Regions from separate parts of the Homo sapiens genome. Here regions 1 and 2 are each linked to region 3. The links are contacts of gene promoters, found by promoter capture Hi-C in human tissues and cell types (Jung and others, 2019). All regions are on one chromosome and are shown on one strand. The core of a region is centred on a gene start or on the middle of the fragment in contact, and the rest is flanking DNA. Distances in the headings are between cores, read along the strand shown. Region 1 holds the start of CALCOCO1 (calcium binding and coiled-coil domain 1). Region 2 holds the start of SMUG1-AS1 (SMUG1 antisense RNA 1). Region 3 holds the start of HOXC11 (homeobox C11).

Region 1 (4,798 bases), core at 1,014-3,513, 250 kb before region 3:
GAGAAAGTTGACTCCACCACGGGATGGTGCCCGGCTTAGTGGTGATTCTTCCATCCTGGCCTTGAGATATCTGTCCTCCTATGAAAGAAAGGGTTGATAGCCTAAAGTCTTTCCAGTCCACCTCCTTCCCCCCACAGCTCCAGCACCACACACTCACAGCCCCTGCCACTACACCTGGAGATAAGGCATACCTGGTTTCTAGTCCCTGAGGGTTACGGGACATTTTTGAGGTATCACTCTTAGTCTCTAGGACGTAGGTCTGGCCTTCCAAGTCCGTCCCCATCCTGTCTCACACTGTACCCGCTCTGGCTCATAGACCCTTCTGAGGGTTCAGACTTCTCTAATTTTGCTCCCAAAAGGACACTGACGGGGACAGAGCCTGGGATACTGCGACTTGGTCGACAGCCTCCATTTCTCCATCCCATCTCCCACACATCCTGGCTCTTGAATACAAAATCCAACTGAGGTGTGGGGCCCTCTCATTGAGAGAGGTGTCCTTACCTACTCCTAAGCTTGTTGACCCAGCTGTATCCAGGAATGAGTTATGACATCAGAAAGCAGCAACTAATCTCTGAAAGGAATGGTTGAGTTTTCAGAGCTAGAATATGGCTGGGGGTCGAGGGGAACTGAGCCCAAATCCTTAGGCTCCTGAGCTCTCAGCTCTTTTCATCTCTCTGAGCTGCCTACCCCCATGAATTCTAGGGAAGCAGAAAGCTTCTGCTGGCATCCAAGAGACAAAGGGAAGGGGAGGATATAAGGAAAGACAGGTTCTGTCCCTTGACTTATTATTCCAGGAAGTCAAGAATTCTGGAGGCGGCAACTTCAAGGGTGGAGTGAGGCGCTTAGCAGGAACGTGGTGGGGGTGGGGAGATGGAATGTGGGGGCCTGGAGCCAGGAAAGCCCCACCCCAGGGCAGGGAACAGACTAGAAAGTGGGAAGTAAGGGGCCCCAAGAAGTGGAAATGTATATTTAACGTTGAGGAAAGGGGAGATAGTTCAAAAAGAACCTAACATTCTTCTCTCCAGACTGTGCCTGCAGCAGGACTAGAAACCTACTGGTTTCACTTTAGTATTTCTCTCCTCATTTTCTCTCTGCTCCCCTCAGCCTCCATCCTTCCATCTGTTTGTATTGGTAGCTGGAGACACACTACAGGATGGGGTTGAGAGGAAGGGGTGTTCCAAGTTAGCTGGGGAGAGTTAATTGGAAAATATGAGGGTGGGGTGAGGACAGATAACAATAATAACGATCAAAAGAACTCCTCAGTCCAGGGCTGTGAGATGGCCCTCTTATTCATCACTCCTTTCCAGCCCACTAATCTATTTCCTGTGTCACTCACAGCTGACATGTCCAACCAGCCATTGTCACTAGTCATATGCACGCCCCCAAACATCACAAACCCACACCAGGCTGAAGTCCAGGGGACAGGAACTTTAAAAGAAAACAGAAACTCAGTGGATAAAGGTGAGCCAGCAACACAAAAAGGAGCAACTTCTGTCCCCCAAATAGGTAGAACAAAAAGTTTTTTTTAATGTTCATCTCCCTGAAAAATTCCTGGTTGAAACTAATCCATGTTTTCTCCAAATGCAATTCTTCCAGCTTTCTAAGGGTGGGGGTAAATTGTCCCCAAAGATATACCTGGAGAACCCTAAAATACACCCCACAAAGAAAATCCGTAACAGCTGTAAACGTTCTTCATGTCCGAAAGAAAGTTTTGGGCACCTAAGATGTAGGTGTGTAGCCTGATTCAGATGTTCACATGATGGGGCGGAGAGCGGGTGTCCCATCCCCTACTCTGTAGGGCTCTAGAGTTCCTTGACATTCTACACCTTGGAAGGTCCCCCTTCCTCCCCAGGGATTCAGCGTCGTAAAGGCCTTTGGATTTGCGTAGGGGAGAGAGGGAAGACGTGTAGGGGACACGTCTTGCCTGGGAGCGAATAAGCAGATTTCAGCTCCCTTGAAGGGATCAGCTTTATAGAGACGCATTGAGAAGAAGGAGAGGACGACGAGGGGGCGCCCCCCACCCCCAATCAGAGTCCCCTTGAAACCAAGAACTCCCCAAACAGCGGGGGTGGCTTCTCCAGTACGGAAAGGGTTACAACCCAAACGCTCCTGTATTCCCCTTCGACAGTTCCCTTACGTTATCCTTCCCCAAACTGGAAAGTGGGGTGACCCTCCCCTCCCATAAGATCGCCCCCAATTAGGCCAAGTTTCTTACCCAACAGACGGATCAGCTGTTCCCCTCACCTTTCACCAACAACAAAAACAGCACTCCGACTTCTGGAGGGGAGGGAGAAGAGTGGGCGCGAGGGCTTCTGGGGTTTGTGGTTCTTCTGCGCCCTTTTGCCGCTGCGTGCTCGGATCTAGGACTATACATCCCAGAAGGCTGCGCGCAAGGAGGGCGGGGAAGAGGGCGTCCGTGACGGCGGCCTCACCGCGGCATCCTGGGAGGCGTAGTTCTCACTCCTATGACAGAAAACGAGGGTGTGGCCAGCAAAGGACTTCAAGGCCCATGATCCCTTAGGAGGGGGCCGGCTGCATTAGGGGTGGCTGCTGGTTTGTAACGTGCGTTGTTGGGGGCTGGGGAGGATTTACGGCTCTAAAGCCTTCCATATAACGCTTTAACGGTGGGCAGAGCGGTTTCTGTTGCGTCCCGTCCTGTACTTTTCGCACCCACCTGTGAGATAGGCGTTAAGCGTTATGCACGCTTTATAGATGTAGAAAGTGAAGTACGGTTAAGGAGGCGGTGTGAAGTGTCAAAGCTATGAAATGTAGAACTGCATTAGCCTTGGCTAATTCCACGTCATATATTCTTGCCACTACACCACAGCTACCCACCATTTTGGGGATGGGAAACTGATAGCTGGGGTATAGCAGTTTCTTCTTTACTTCAATCTCAGGGACAGACCTTGTAAGAATGATGTCTTCTGCACAGCTGACCATTTTTTTCCAACTTGAGGATTTCAGTGCTAAGGGGCCTGACCATATCCACATCTGGACTGGGCTCCCCCAGAGTGGCTTCTGGGTCTAGGAAGAGGATACAATTGACTGAGGTGGTGGTAGGAGCGGTGGAATGAGAAGAATGAAATTGAAAAGGGAGCTTGGCATAATTCAGGACCTGTCACAATTCACAAACAAGCCACTTATGGGGCCTGTTTGCCCAAGCCTTTTAAGTGGCTTAAATTAATTAGGATAACAATACATGTTGACGTTCCGGTTTTTATTTAGGAGAGGTGAAAGATTGACACGTCTCCCACACCCCAAGTCACGTTATAGACTTGGGCATCCTGTCCCCCCTCTCGCTATTCTCCATCCCTGTAGTCGGAGGCATTCAGAATTACCTCTTTCTCTGGCTCTGCATTAAAGGATTACAGTCTTAAGGATTGATTTCCTCTTCCTAGGTGCCTGCTTTAATTCTCTACTGCACTAAGTTATGGAGCTTCTGCCTTTTCCAAGTTTTTTGGTAGTGTTTTGCTTTTATGACTGAATGCGGTGTCTGCCCTCAGTGTCTTTCATCTGAAGATCTCCAGGCACTTAAAAATTAGTTACTGGGCTGCACAAACATTAAGGTGATGTGTCTGTGTCATTAGTCAGGATTTATGAGTTAGGGAACCAGTTTCTGGATGAGGAGGTAGCTCAAGGTCTGGAGTGGGTTAAGAGTGAGGTCTGTTCAAGGACCCAAGTCTCAAGAGTTCTTGGCTCTTGTCTTCCGCCCAAAATAAAGGTCTACGAGAAAACAGTCTCGGAGCTAAAAATGGTAACAACTTCCATTTCTTGGGTGCTTATGATCTGTTCAAACTATGCTAAGAATTTTCCCATTTAATACAACAGGCTTATGTAATACGCCTTGTTATTATCCCCATTTTACACATGATGAGATTGAGGCACAATTAATGACTTGCCTGGAGTCATCCAGCTAGTGAGTGGCAGAATCAAGATTTAAGCACAAGCAGTCACCATACTCCCAGTCCAGAAACTCTGGCATGTGATACTAACTCCCATTGTTCTAAGGAACAGTGCTGGTTCATTAACAGGAGACAAATGTTCACTGAGCATTTATGTGCTCAGTGCAAGGCACAAAGTAATGTGAAACAGATTCATTCAACAAATATGTGGCAGGTACTATGCTAGGTATTCAGTTACTTTTATTGAAAGAATGAATAGTAAATATTCATTATTTTAAAATAATATATGTAATTCATTATTTTAAAATAATAAATGTAATTCATTATTTTAATTATAGTCATTACTTTCAAATATTCAAGTATTTGAAGGATAGATTAAATTTGGATAGTTTGGCAAGATGGGGACTGGGGAGGGTAAGCTTCTTCTAGGCCAAAGCAAAGATTTGGAGGTGGGAATGGATAATGAGCCTAGAGTCACATAATAGCACATCAATTTCAACCTTTATTTATGTATTTAGGCAAACTCAGATTATTGGTAATGTCTGCCTGAAATGTTGTGTTGAGGATTCTGAGGAAAGAGTGCTGGGTAGTAATGTCTGCCATGTACTCCAGATGGAAAATGGCAGTTGTAGTGGATGGACTAATTGTTTGAAATTATTTCCTCTCTCATTCCTGCCCACTGCCATGTGACTTGCAGTATCTCCTGTAGAAGGAATAGATGTCTCATGTCATTGACTTTGGGCTTTGTCATGTTTCATAATTTGGCTGATGGGATGTGAACAGATGTGACTCATGCCATGTTTGAACACATGAGTTTCCACTTTCTTGTTCTTCTCTGCCACTAGAATGGGAATAATCCACATGAGAGTTGCTCCTTCTGCCTGGGCCTGGGAATG
Region 2 (5,043 bases), core at 1,774-4,273, 170 kb after region 3:
GCCCTCCTCCTGCTATAGCTGCTCCTCCTCCCCCCTTGGAAGAATGCACCCTCCCCTCAGCTTTCCCTCCACAGAGGCCAGAGCAGGAGGGAGGCTGCATATGGCCCCGTTTTCCTTGGCCTGGGTAGGCTATTTTGGAAGCGAGAACCCTCCTTGCCCTTTCCTCCCCTCTGGGAAGCACCGTCCCTCCCCTCTCCACATTCCCCAGAAGTTCTCAGACTGAGATCCGCCCTACGTGCAGTTATGTGGTGAAATCACTGCTTTCCTCCCCGCCGGAGGCGCCAAAGCTTGGAAGGGAGGGTACTCAAACCTTTGATGTAGGCACGTTTCAGAAGGCCCACCTGTCCCCTCTCTCCCCAGCCCCCAGCCTGAAAGGCTGGAGCCCCTCATCACAGCTTTCCTGCCTGGATTAGCTGGGGGTAAGATCAGGTCACACACACTCTATCCCGCTGGGGGCAATCAGGCCCAACCACACTCGGGGACATCTGTCTCCAGCAAATAGGGGGCAATCCCAAATTTGAGGGGTTCTGTGACACTTAAAAGCTTCAAGCAGGAAGTTCTGCAATTTCTCTTGGACCAGGGCCTGCGGGGAGGGTCGCTCAGAAACCCTCGTTTGATGTTGCGCTTTCATGGCTGTGGTTTGATCCAGATGTTCCCCAATTGTGGGATTTTATTTTTGGGAGGGAGGGGCCCTTGGCTATAAAGGCATTTCCATCATGTGCACATTTGGATCTGGGCCTGCTGGGCGGGGGTGCTCTTCCAGCTCTCACTAACCCCACCCTTCCCCCTAGGATCATATCCTTTCCCTTCACATCCAGAGAAGAGAAGAGGATCCATAAGGGGGCATTCCCAGCTCCTTGATGGTTTGCTGTGTGACTGTCCAAAAATGTCTCTACATCTCTGTTTTTCTGGCACCATAAGCTGAAGTTGGTTCCTAAAGATGGTTCCCAGGTCATGGGAGGAATAGGACAGGGAATTCCAGAACCAAATTTCTGTCTAAGAAAGAAACAATTATCTAAGAAATTGTGAGTGGAATTGGACTGAACGTGGATGAGTCAGGGCTCTTGAAAAAGAAAGTGGCCGTCCCTCTTTGAGTCAGTTCTGCAAGAGTGGACAGAAACTTTTCCAGACTCCCAGGCCTCTCTGCTCCCTCAGAGCTTGAAAAGATTAAAGTCATTCCTCCTCAAGGTCTTCAGTGAAACCCTGGAAATCTTTCCTTCAATTTTAAGAGATTACAGTTCTTCCCATTGTCTAGCCTCTGTCACTACTTGCTGTAGCATGAGGTGGCTTCCCTGGGGGAAAGTGTACCAGTCCCGCTCATTGGTCGTCTAAGACCTCCCAGCATTCCTCAAGACATTTCTGCCTCATGATGTCAGAAGAAGGGCTGTCAAATAGATTTTAAAACCCCAGGCTCGGCCAGGCACAGTGGCTCACGCTTGTAATCCCAGCACTTTGCGGGAATCACGAGAGCAGAAGATCGAGACCATCCTGGCTAACACGATGAAACCCCATCTCTAATAAAAATACAAAAAATTAACTGGGCATCCTGGCAGACGCCTGTAGTCCCAGCTACTCGGGAGGCTGTGGCAGGAGAATGGCGTGAACCCGGGGAGGCAGAGCTTGCGGTGAGCAGAGATCACACAACTGCACTCCAGCCTGGGCAACAGAGCGAGACTCCATCTCAAAAAAAAAAAAAAAAGACTTGGCTCCTCACTTGTATTGTGGGAATCCCAGCCTAAATTGGACATGTGGATGTTGAGCAATAGAGGACAGACAAACAAAGGAATCTCCAGACCCTGCAGGACCCAAGGCAGCAGCCCACGAGTGGATCCTAAAGGATTTTCATCAGCTGCAAGTCTGGGTAAGTGGGCTTTTTTTGGGGGGAGGGGAGAAGCAGCCTGGGATGCTTCTTGCAGGAAGAGGAGTTTCAGAGGAGACAAGAGAGGTTAGGAGCCACTGAGTGGGTGAGGAGGGCCTAGCCCAAGAGGCTGGGGACAACCACGAGAGGCGGGCCAATGGGAGAAGAGGGCACTGTTCCTCAGCGGACTAGGTAGAAGGAGGGGTTGGAGAGAGGTGGGTGCAAGGAAGGAAGAAGGAGGATGGGGAGCTCCCCGTGGCTGCCCCACCTGAAGAATTTGAGCAGCTGTTCCCAGCTCCCCCTTGCTCTGTGTAACATCAAGCAAATGCACGGTGGGGGATCAGCTTTTCCTCTGAAGACCTCAGGGCCAGTTCTCAGGCCTCCCCCTCCCTATGGACTTTAATCCAGTCCAGCACAGATGGATCAGGTCATGATGGTGATGGGGGTGGTAGCATTGGGTCTCCCTGGCTTGAATTTTTTCTTATTCCCCCATGTCCTCTCCTCCTTAGGTGATAATTTATCCTTTCGCATGGTCTTACATACTTCACATGTCTATAGCTCAGAGAACTAAGAAGCACCTCATCATTCTTAAGTTGGGCCTTGCTACCTGCAGGCCCCTCCCCTCCCACACTTACCTTCACACGACTGGGGCAAGTGGTTAGCTTCCCCACGGCCCCCCCAGCCCCTCTCCTCTCCAAGACACCCTTCTTATCTTTCTGACTACAATTAGAGCCTCCTCTCCCTGTAGGGGAGTGAGAGGGACAAGGTCAAGGATCCTCACAACTCAATAACAGCTGTAGAGCCTCACCTATCCTGTGTACTCACAGTGACTCCATGCAGGGGACCAGCAACAAGGGGAAAGGGAGTGGGAGTTAGTGTGGGGACAGGGGAGAAGCATGCATCGGGATTCCCTGCCTGGTCTAGTCTGGTCTGGGAGCAGGGCAGATGCTCAACAAGGCATCCCAGGTCTCGGGGAGCGGCTGGCAGTGGTGAAACACCAGCTCTCTCAGGGCACGTGAAAGTTCATGTTTCCCCTCCCTCTCCTCTCTCCCTCCCACTCTTCATGACTGGATCCAGGGAAGGACACACCTGTCACAAGTACTGCCCTCATCTCTCCCTGTAACTCCACCTCCACCCCCCATACCCACTTTATCCCTCTGCAGGGTTACTAGAGCCTGACCAAAATTCTCTACTGACCAGAGACAGACAGACAGACCTGTTCCCTGTTCCCCAACTTCCAGTGGTGCTGCGCATGGAGACGCTGAGGTGGGACCCAAAGACCTGCTCCCGTCTTCTCTCCTTAGGGACTTGCAGAAGCCCCTTTCTCAGAGTCACCCCTCCCAGGATGAGGTGAAGAGGCTGAAAAGGGAAGGGCCATAATGCTAAGGCTGGGGCAGGGGACAGCGGCGCCCTCCATGCACTCTCCTGATTAGTGCAGGTAAACATAAGGGTTTCCCCCAAATGCGAGGGTTCTGCTTCAGTGCCATGGAAGGCCCCACCAGCACCTGCTGCCCCTCCTGTTCGTCCTCCCTCTCTTCAGCCCCACAATTACCGAGAGCGAGTTGTTGAGGCAAGCTCTACCCCAGGCCTGCGTTAAGAAATTTGGGTGGGATAGGCCGGGCGTGGTGGCTCACGCCTGTAATCCCAGCACTTTGGGAGGCCGAGGAGGGTGGATCACGAGGTCAGGAGATCGAGACCATCCTGGCTAACATGGTGAAACCCCATCTTTACCAAAAATACAAAAAATAAGCCGGGCGTTGTGGTGAGCGCCTGTAGTCCCAGCTACTCGGGAGGCTGAGGCAGGAGAATGGAGTGAACCCTGGAGGTGGAGGTTGCAGTGAATCGAGATCGCACCACTGCACTCCAGCCTGGGCGACAGATCGAGACTCTGTCTCAAAAAAAAAAAAAAAAAAAAAGAAATTTGAGTGGGAGAATAGAGGTAAGAGACATTTCCTTAGTGTTTACTGCAAACCCTGCCAGGCTAGAGGTGCCATAATCTGCCCTGTATCAGATCCACAGAGTCATCCCACCAAAACCCCCCCCAGGATGTATGTGAGACCACTGGACTCATTGGCACTGGCAAATAAGAAGATGGCCAGAAAGCAATCAACACCGAACGCCCACTGCGTGCTTGGCACTGGGCCAGACTCTGCTGGGGGAGACTGGAGGAAAGGCCCATTTCACTGGTCTTGAGCTCTACATACCATGTTAAGCCAGAGAGGTACATATTACAAATACTGGAGACTCTCATGCTTGAGTATAATCCTATAATCTTATACCCACTCCCATTCAGACGTGTGGTCATATGTGAATGTCAAGCACACAAGCTAGACAGAAGAAAGAACTTCCCTAGGTTGTCAGTACTGTAGAGTAAAATCATCAGACTCGAAGCCCTCATTCTCGGAAGGTGATGAACTGGGAGAGCCCCCGCCTTGCTGGGCCAGGGGTAAAATAAGGCTCCTGTCTGAAGGCAGGGGGATGGTTGAGATGACCCCTCAAGATGCTACCCAGGAAAAGGCAGAGAGGTAAAGTTTCCAGTAGAGGGGCATGAGAAGGAGGGACAGACAGATGGATGGAGGGATGGAGGAGTGCAGGGAGCAGTGCTGGAGAGATGAATGGTCTTGGCTGGACTGATGGGCGAGGCCAAGATGGATGGATGGCAGCTGAGGTTTGTTTACTGGCAGCCCCCAGCCCGCCATCGCCCAGGGGAGAGGAATGGTGGCTGGCACATCAGAGGGCTCTTAGGGAAGCTCATGGAGATGATTTAGATGGGAATGAATCAGCTCCATATGGATTAAGTGTCCCCGCAAATCCCAGATCTTACAGATGAGGGGATGGGGCAAGGGCACTGAGGGGAGGGGAGAGAGTGGGGAAGCAGCGTGGAGCTGGTGCAGGGAAACACGGTCCTGAAGCCAGGGGAAGGGCACCCTCAGAGGGCATGGGGCAGGTCAGCCTGGCACAGATGCAACCCCTGCCTTGGTCTGTTGATACCACTGTTCCTCTTGCTTGGTACCAAGCTTTAGGAAAAGGCCTCCTTCTCCACACCAAACCAACTGTTGGAGTGTCCTTTCTGAGTCCGTTTTGGTCTGTCTCCTCTTGCCTCTGTCTCTTGTTCTCTCTACATCTTCATCTGTCTTTCATCTTCATTTTTCTGTCCCTCTCACTACCTAGCCTTCTCTGTGTTT
Region 3 (5,114 bases), core at 357-2,856:
TTTCATCAAGACAAATCCATTCTAATTTCTTTAAGTGGAAACTAATTTTAACTGAGGGTTATGGATGTAAAGAGAGTTCGGGCTATTTTTTGTTTTCCCCTGAGTGTGCATTGGGCTGAGCCCTTGGGGGCTTCGGTTCTTCCCCTCCTTCCCAAACAAATTGTGCCCTGGCAGCTCCTCTTTGGATCCAAGGTTGCTTTCAGCTCATGCTGGTTGCTTTTGGCCCCTTGGACCCAGTCCAGAACCTTTCAATAAAGTGATTTTCAGATGCCCACATGTGTCCTGTGGTGCTCAGAGGGATGGAAGGCAAGGGGTTGGGGATGCAGAATGACTGAGCCTACTTCTTGGGCTACAGCTATCCAGGAGGCTGACAGACTTGTAGGAGGGCAGGACAGGGCTGAGAAATAGGAAGGAGGCACTAAGATCTGGTCACAGCCCCAGGGACAGAGGCTGGGGGCTTTGACTAGGGAGTGGCCGCTGGGCCTCCCCTGATGCCACAGCATCCACCGCTCCTTTCCACTGTCTGGTTAGTCTCTTCTGGAGACCCATACCTGGCCCCACCACCCACCTTACAGTCCTCAAAATCATCCAAGGATAAGAACCCCAAACCTAGTCCCCCCCACCATATTCTTCCTGGACCCCTACACTAGGCTTCTTTTCAGCGCACTAGCTGAGGCTGAGCCACTAAGCCAAAGGGCCCTGACATAGAAGATACATGGCTCTCATTCCAATCCTTTTCTTTGGGGTTTGGGATTTGAAAATCCACAGTGGATGTAGCTTTCTTCACATTGATTGACAATAAAGGCAGGCATGAAATATTCACCCAGGGCCACTCTCTCATACTAAATATTTAACACAACATTAGAGAAGGTTTTTCCCAGACTTCGCCAGGCACCGGCTGGGCGGCTGGCGCACTGCTCACCACTCGTTTATGACTAATCTGACTCCCTAGCCAGGGGCAGCACAGCAAGCCAGACAAAGTTGGGACACTGGCTTGCAGCTGGGCTGCCTCACCTTTGGGAAACTTCAGATACTCTTCCGGGAGTCTCTCTAAGGACTCCAGAAAGGTAGTCTTGACACCCAGCTCTGGCCAGGAAAAGAGTGGACTTCTTCAAACTCTTGTGAACAGGCGGTGTCTCTGCGGGTTGGAAGGGTAAGAGTCCCTGAGATTTAAGGGAAAGGATTCACTTCTCTGGGGAAATCAGGCAGTGGGGAAAGAAGTCCTCACTCCCACCCTCCTGGTGCTGCTCACAGAGAGGAGGCAAGACCCCCATACATGAGAGCCCTCCTCCTTCCCCCAATCCTGGGGGAAAAAAGAGCAGCAGCTAGAAAAAAATACAATTACCCCTTCCCAGCCACCACCCTCGCCCATCCCACCGCCCACCCCACCCCAACCCTCTCTCTCCTCCTTTGCTCGTGCTGTGGTATGGAGAGAAGGGGAGTGACGAGAGAAAAACGAATACAAATCTGCAATTGATTTTCATAATGTTTCTGCGGTGTTTGCAAACCAATCGCCTGAACGTCCCCGATCTTACCTAAGAGAGAACCCCTCCTACGTCTGCGAAGTGCTCCGAACTGATATATGACAATATCTACTTTGGATCACGTGCTCAGAGAGAGAGAGACTAAGACGGATAACGCGTCATCTCGCCTTCCCAAATTTTCCCCCCTCGCTAGACCGGGTCCAAAACCTCCATCCGGAGCCGGCAGGAGAGGAGAACGATGTTTAACTCGGTCAACCTGGGCAACTTCTGCTCTCCGTCGCGCAAGGAGAGGGGCGCAGATTTCGGCGAGCGAGGGAGCTGCGCCTCCAACCTCTATCTGCCCAGTTGCACTTACTACATGCCCGAGTTCTCCACGGTCTCCTCCTTCCTGCCCCAGGCCCCCTCTCGTCAGATCTCCTATCCCTACTCGGCCCAAGTGCCCCCGGTCCGGGAGGTCTCCTACGGCCTGGAGCCATCCGGCAAGTGGCACCATCGGAACAGCTACTCCTCCTGCTATGCGGCGGCCGACGAGCTTATGCACCGGGAGTGCCTGCCTCCTTCCACCGTCACCGAGATCCTCATGAAAAACGAAGGCTCCTACGGCGGCCACCACCACCCCAGCGCCCCGCACGCAACCCCCGCCGGCTTCTACTCCTCAGTCAACAAGAACAGCGTCCTGCCTCAAGCCTTCGACCGTTTCTTCGACAACGCCTACTGCGGTGGCGGCGACCCGCCCGCCGAGCCCCCCTGCTCCGGCAAGGGCGAGGCCAAGGGGGAGCCCGAGGCACCCCCGGCCTCGGGACTGGCGTCCCGGGCTGAGGCGGGTGCCGAGGCGGAGGCTGAGGAGGAGAACACAAATCCCAGCTCGTCCGGTTCAGCCCACTCCGTGGCCAAGGAGCCGGCCAAAGGAGCCGCCCCCAGTAGGTAGCAGCGGCCGGGGAACGGGCGGGCAGCGAGGGAGGGAGCGAGAGAGGGAGGGCGAGAGAAGGGGGGAGGCAAGGGGAGCGGGGACGGCCTCGTGTTTTGGGTCAGTCCGATTTTATGTGGAGTTTTATAAGCATTCAAAGGATTTTATTATAACCTACAAAGCCCTCTCTCCCAACGACTCGACTTTTTACGATGGAGAAGGGGTGGGGAGGGAGGGAAAAGGGCTCTTTGGAAAAGCCGGGTGAACCCCCCTCCCCCGTTATCTCCCTCGGTCTGTGAAATTTTTAAAAGCGCAACCATTGCGGGCGATATTAACTTTGATCGTGAACTTAGAGGAGCATTTAAGGAAGTATGGGGAGCCGGGCTGCCGAGGAGTGGGGAGGAGGGGAGGGGTGGAGGGGGAGAAAGGGGAGGGCGAGGGAAAGACAGGGAGAGATCCAGAGAGGGGGAGAGGTGGGGGAGAGGAGCAATGGAGCAGAACCTGAGACCGGAGAGGCAAGCCAGGACCGCTATGATCCTTCTTAAAACTAGTTTTGAAAATGTTCAAACTATGTGTTCGCGGGTCCTCGAGCAGAAACCCAAGCAACTCTGGGGTCAGCGGCGACAGGGGAATGGGGCGAGGCGGCGCAGGACTCCACTGCGTTCCAGGCGGGGGTCTGGGCGTTTCTCCCGGGTCCGCGGCCTTAGTGCTTGCCTAGAACTGCGGTGTGGAAGGCGCTGCCCCGCGGGCTTCCCGGGGCGCCAGGGCCCCGGAAGCGGCTCTCTGGTGTCTCGGTGCCTGCTGGCCGGCTTCCTCCCCGCCTCCCGACTGCTCTCGCCAGATTTCACTGCTTCGCGCCTGTTCTCAGCTTTCCCCCCAGATTTCTGGGGGAGGGGTTGGGCTTTCCGAACCACTAGGAGGGCGGCCCAGGAAGGGCCCGAGGGCGGAGGGGGAGCAGACAGGGGGCCCGAGGGGACGCACGTGTACCTGGAGGGCTTTCCTTCTGTCCCAGACCCTGTCAGCCGCGGCTCTCGCCTGAGAACTGGGGACGGGGTGGCGCAGTGGCGGGGGGGTGGGGACCCGCTAGACCTGGCAGGGGGTCGAGGCTTGCCCGGGTGCTGCGGCTGCAGGAGAGCCAGCCGCCTGGCGGGAGGGCTGCCCGCGGTGGGCTAGGAGAAGGGCCGCTGAGCGCTCAGCGGGCTGGGGTCGCCCGGGTCTCACGTGTCTCTCTCCCCCCTCTCCTCGCACTTGCCCCCTCCCCTCCCTCCAGACGCCCCCCGCACCCGCAAGAAGCGCTGCCCTTATTCGAAATTCCAGATCCGGGAACTGGAGCGAGAGTTTTTCTTCAACGTGTATATCAACAAAGAGAAGCGGCTGCAGCTGTCCCGGATGCTGAACCTGACGGACCGACAAGTGAAAATTTGGTTTCAGAACAGAAGGATGAAAGAAAAGAAACTGAGCAGAGACCGGCTGCAGTATTTCTCGGGAAATCCTCTGCTGTAACCTGCAGACCGGGCCCTTTTGGGGGCGGGGGGAGGGGAAAATTATTTTATTTTATTTTTATTTTTTATTTTCTAACTCGTCTTCTTTCCGCCGGTGGAAAACTGGACTGTGGCCAGGGCTGGCCCCCACCGCTGTGGCCGGCACTCCATTCCGGAACCTCCTGGACCCTCTATCTGACTCTCGCTGTGGGACAGGGACCGGGCCTGGAAAGGGGGTGAAGGGAAGTGTCTGATGCACGGCGAGTGAACACCGTTGGCGCCGAGGCCAAGACTTTGATTTAAAAGAAAACACACCTCGGCGACAATGTCTTGCTGCTCGGATTAGGTGGGGGAGGGGCGACAGTAGTGAGCGCCTGAGCCGAACAATCCTCGAACTAAAAGCCTTCCCTTGCCCATGTGAAAAGATCCGCTAAGACAGCATGTCTGCCAGCGGAAACTTCTCGAGCTCCCCCCTCTACCCCGCCCCACCTTGCAGCTAAATGTGATCCTGCCTTGCTGTGAAATTTCTGTACCTTCAACCTGGTGTTAGGTGTGCAAAGTCCGTGTCCTACCTCCGTCTTCGCCAAGGCCCCGCCCGAGCCTAGTTGTTCTCCCCCTGAATGTGTAGAACCTTCCTTTGAAATTTCTTAATCGGTGCATTGAGGTTTCCACATCTTTTTCCAAGCAGTGCCCCACTTCATGGATTTATAGCTATAGTCTATGCAGTCGTTACCTCTTTTTTTTTTTTTTTTAAGAAAATTGAAGATTGGGGTGGTGGAGGCAGTAGGGAGATGGGATTGGGCACCTCCCCCGTGCTGGGGCCTGGATTTTTGTAAATAAATTTCCCAAGCGTTTCTTTCCACCTGGAGGGAAAGGGGGGGACGCCCCCAGTGAGATTCAAATCACGCATCTCTACTCCTCTGCGTGAGTGCGTGTGTACATGTGCACTCCCCACCCTGCTCCCTTCCCAGAGGGATTGCTGTGAAATTTTTTTGGTGGCAAATAAAGATAAATTTCATTCTGTTCAATATTATGATTTTATTTGACCCTTTTATTAACCCCTCTCCTCTTAAAATCCTCCATGCTCCCATGGCAGCGGCGGAGGAGGAGGAGGCAGGCAGGCAGAGCCCAGCGGGTGAGGACAGGCAGGCAGAGGTGAGATAGGCCGGTGCTAGCCGGCCTGGAGCTCCTCTCCGCTGGCAGGGCCAAGAGTATGGCCGTAGTCTCCTCACATTCTCAAGC

Evidence for each region. Contacts are between HindIII fragments. The study calls those that stand out against the background at their distance.
Region 1: the fragment with the promoter of CALCOCO1 here is called in contact with the fragment with the promoter of HOXC11 in region 3 in 1 of the 25 tissues and cell types used here (neural progenitor cells).
Region 2: a fragment that was not itself captured here is called in contact with the fragment with the promoter of HOXC11 in region 3 in 1 of the 25 tissues and cell types used here (neural progenitor cells).

Annotation. Positions count from the first base shown.
Region 1 is chr12:53,725,189-53,729,986 of GRCh38, forward strand. It overlaps CALCOCO1 (calcium binding and coiled-coil domain 1), which reads right to left and starts at 2,264. Exons shown (of 15, transcript NM_020898.3): 1 at 2,216-2,264; 2 at 1-78. The coding sequence starts at 54. LOC105369774 (a long non-coding RNA gene) reads left to right here and starts at 1,391. Exons shown (of 3, transcript XR_944973.3): 1 at 1,391-1,461; 2 at 4,748-4,798. RefSeq lists enhancers at 1-1,039, 2,357-2,416. The HindIII fragment of the contact is 5,999 bases long and covers 1-4,798 here.
Region 2 is chr12:54,140,961-54,146,003 of GRCh38, forward strand. SMUG1-AS1 (SMUG1 antisense RNA 1) reads left to right here and starts at 1,642. Exons shown (of 2, transcript XR_007063322.1): 1 at 1,642-1,861. The HindIII fragment of the contact is 5,217 bases long and covers 416-5,043 here.
Region 3 is chr12:53,971,520-53,976,633 of GRCh38, forward strand. It overlaps HOXC11 (homeobox C11), which reads left to right and starts at 1,607. Exons shown (of 2, transcript NM_014212.4): 1 at 1,607-2,404; 2 at 3,662-5,114. The coding sequence starts at 1,723. The coding sequence ends at 3,894. HOTAIR (HOX transcript antisense RNA) reads right to left here and starts at 3,435. Exons shown (of 7, transcript NR_186241.1): 1 at 3,379-3,435. RefSeq lists enhancers at 2,833-3,427, 3,758-3,907. The HindIII fragment of the contact is 16,724 bases long and covers 1-5,114 here.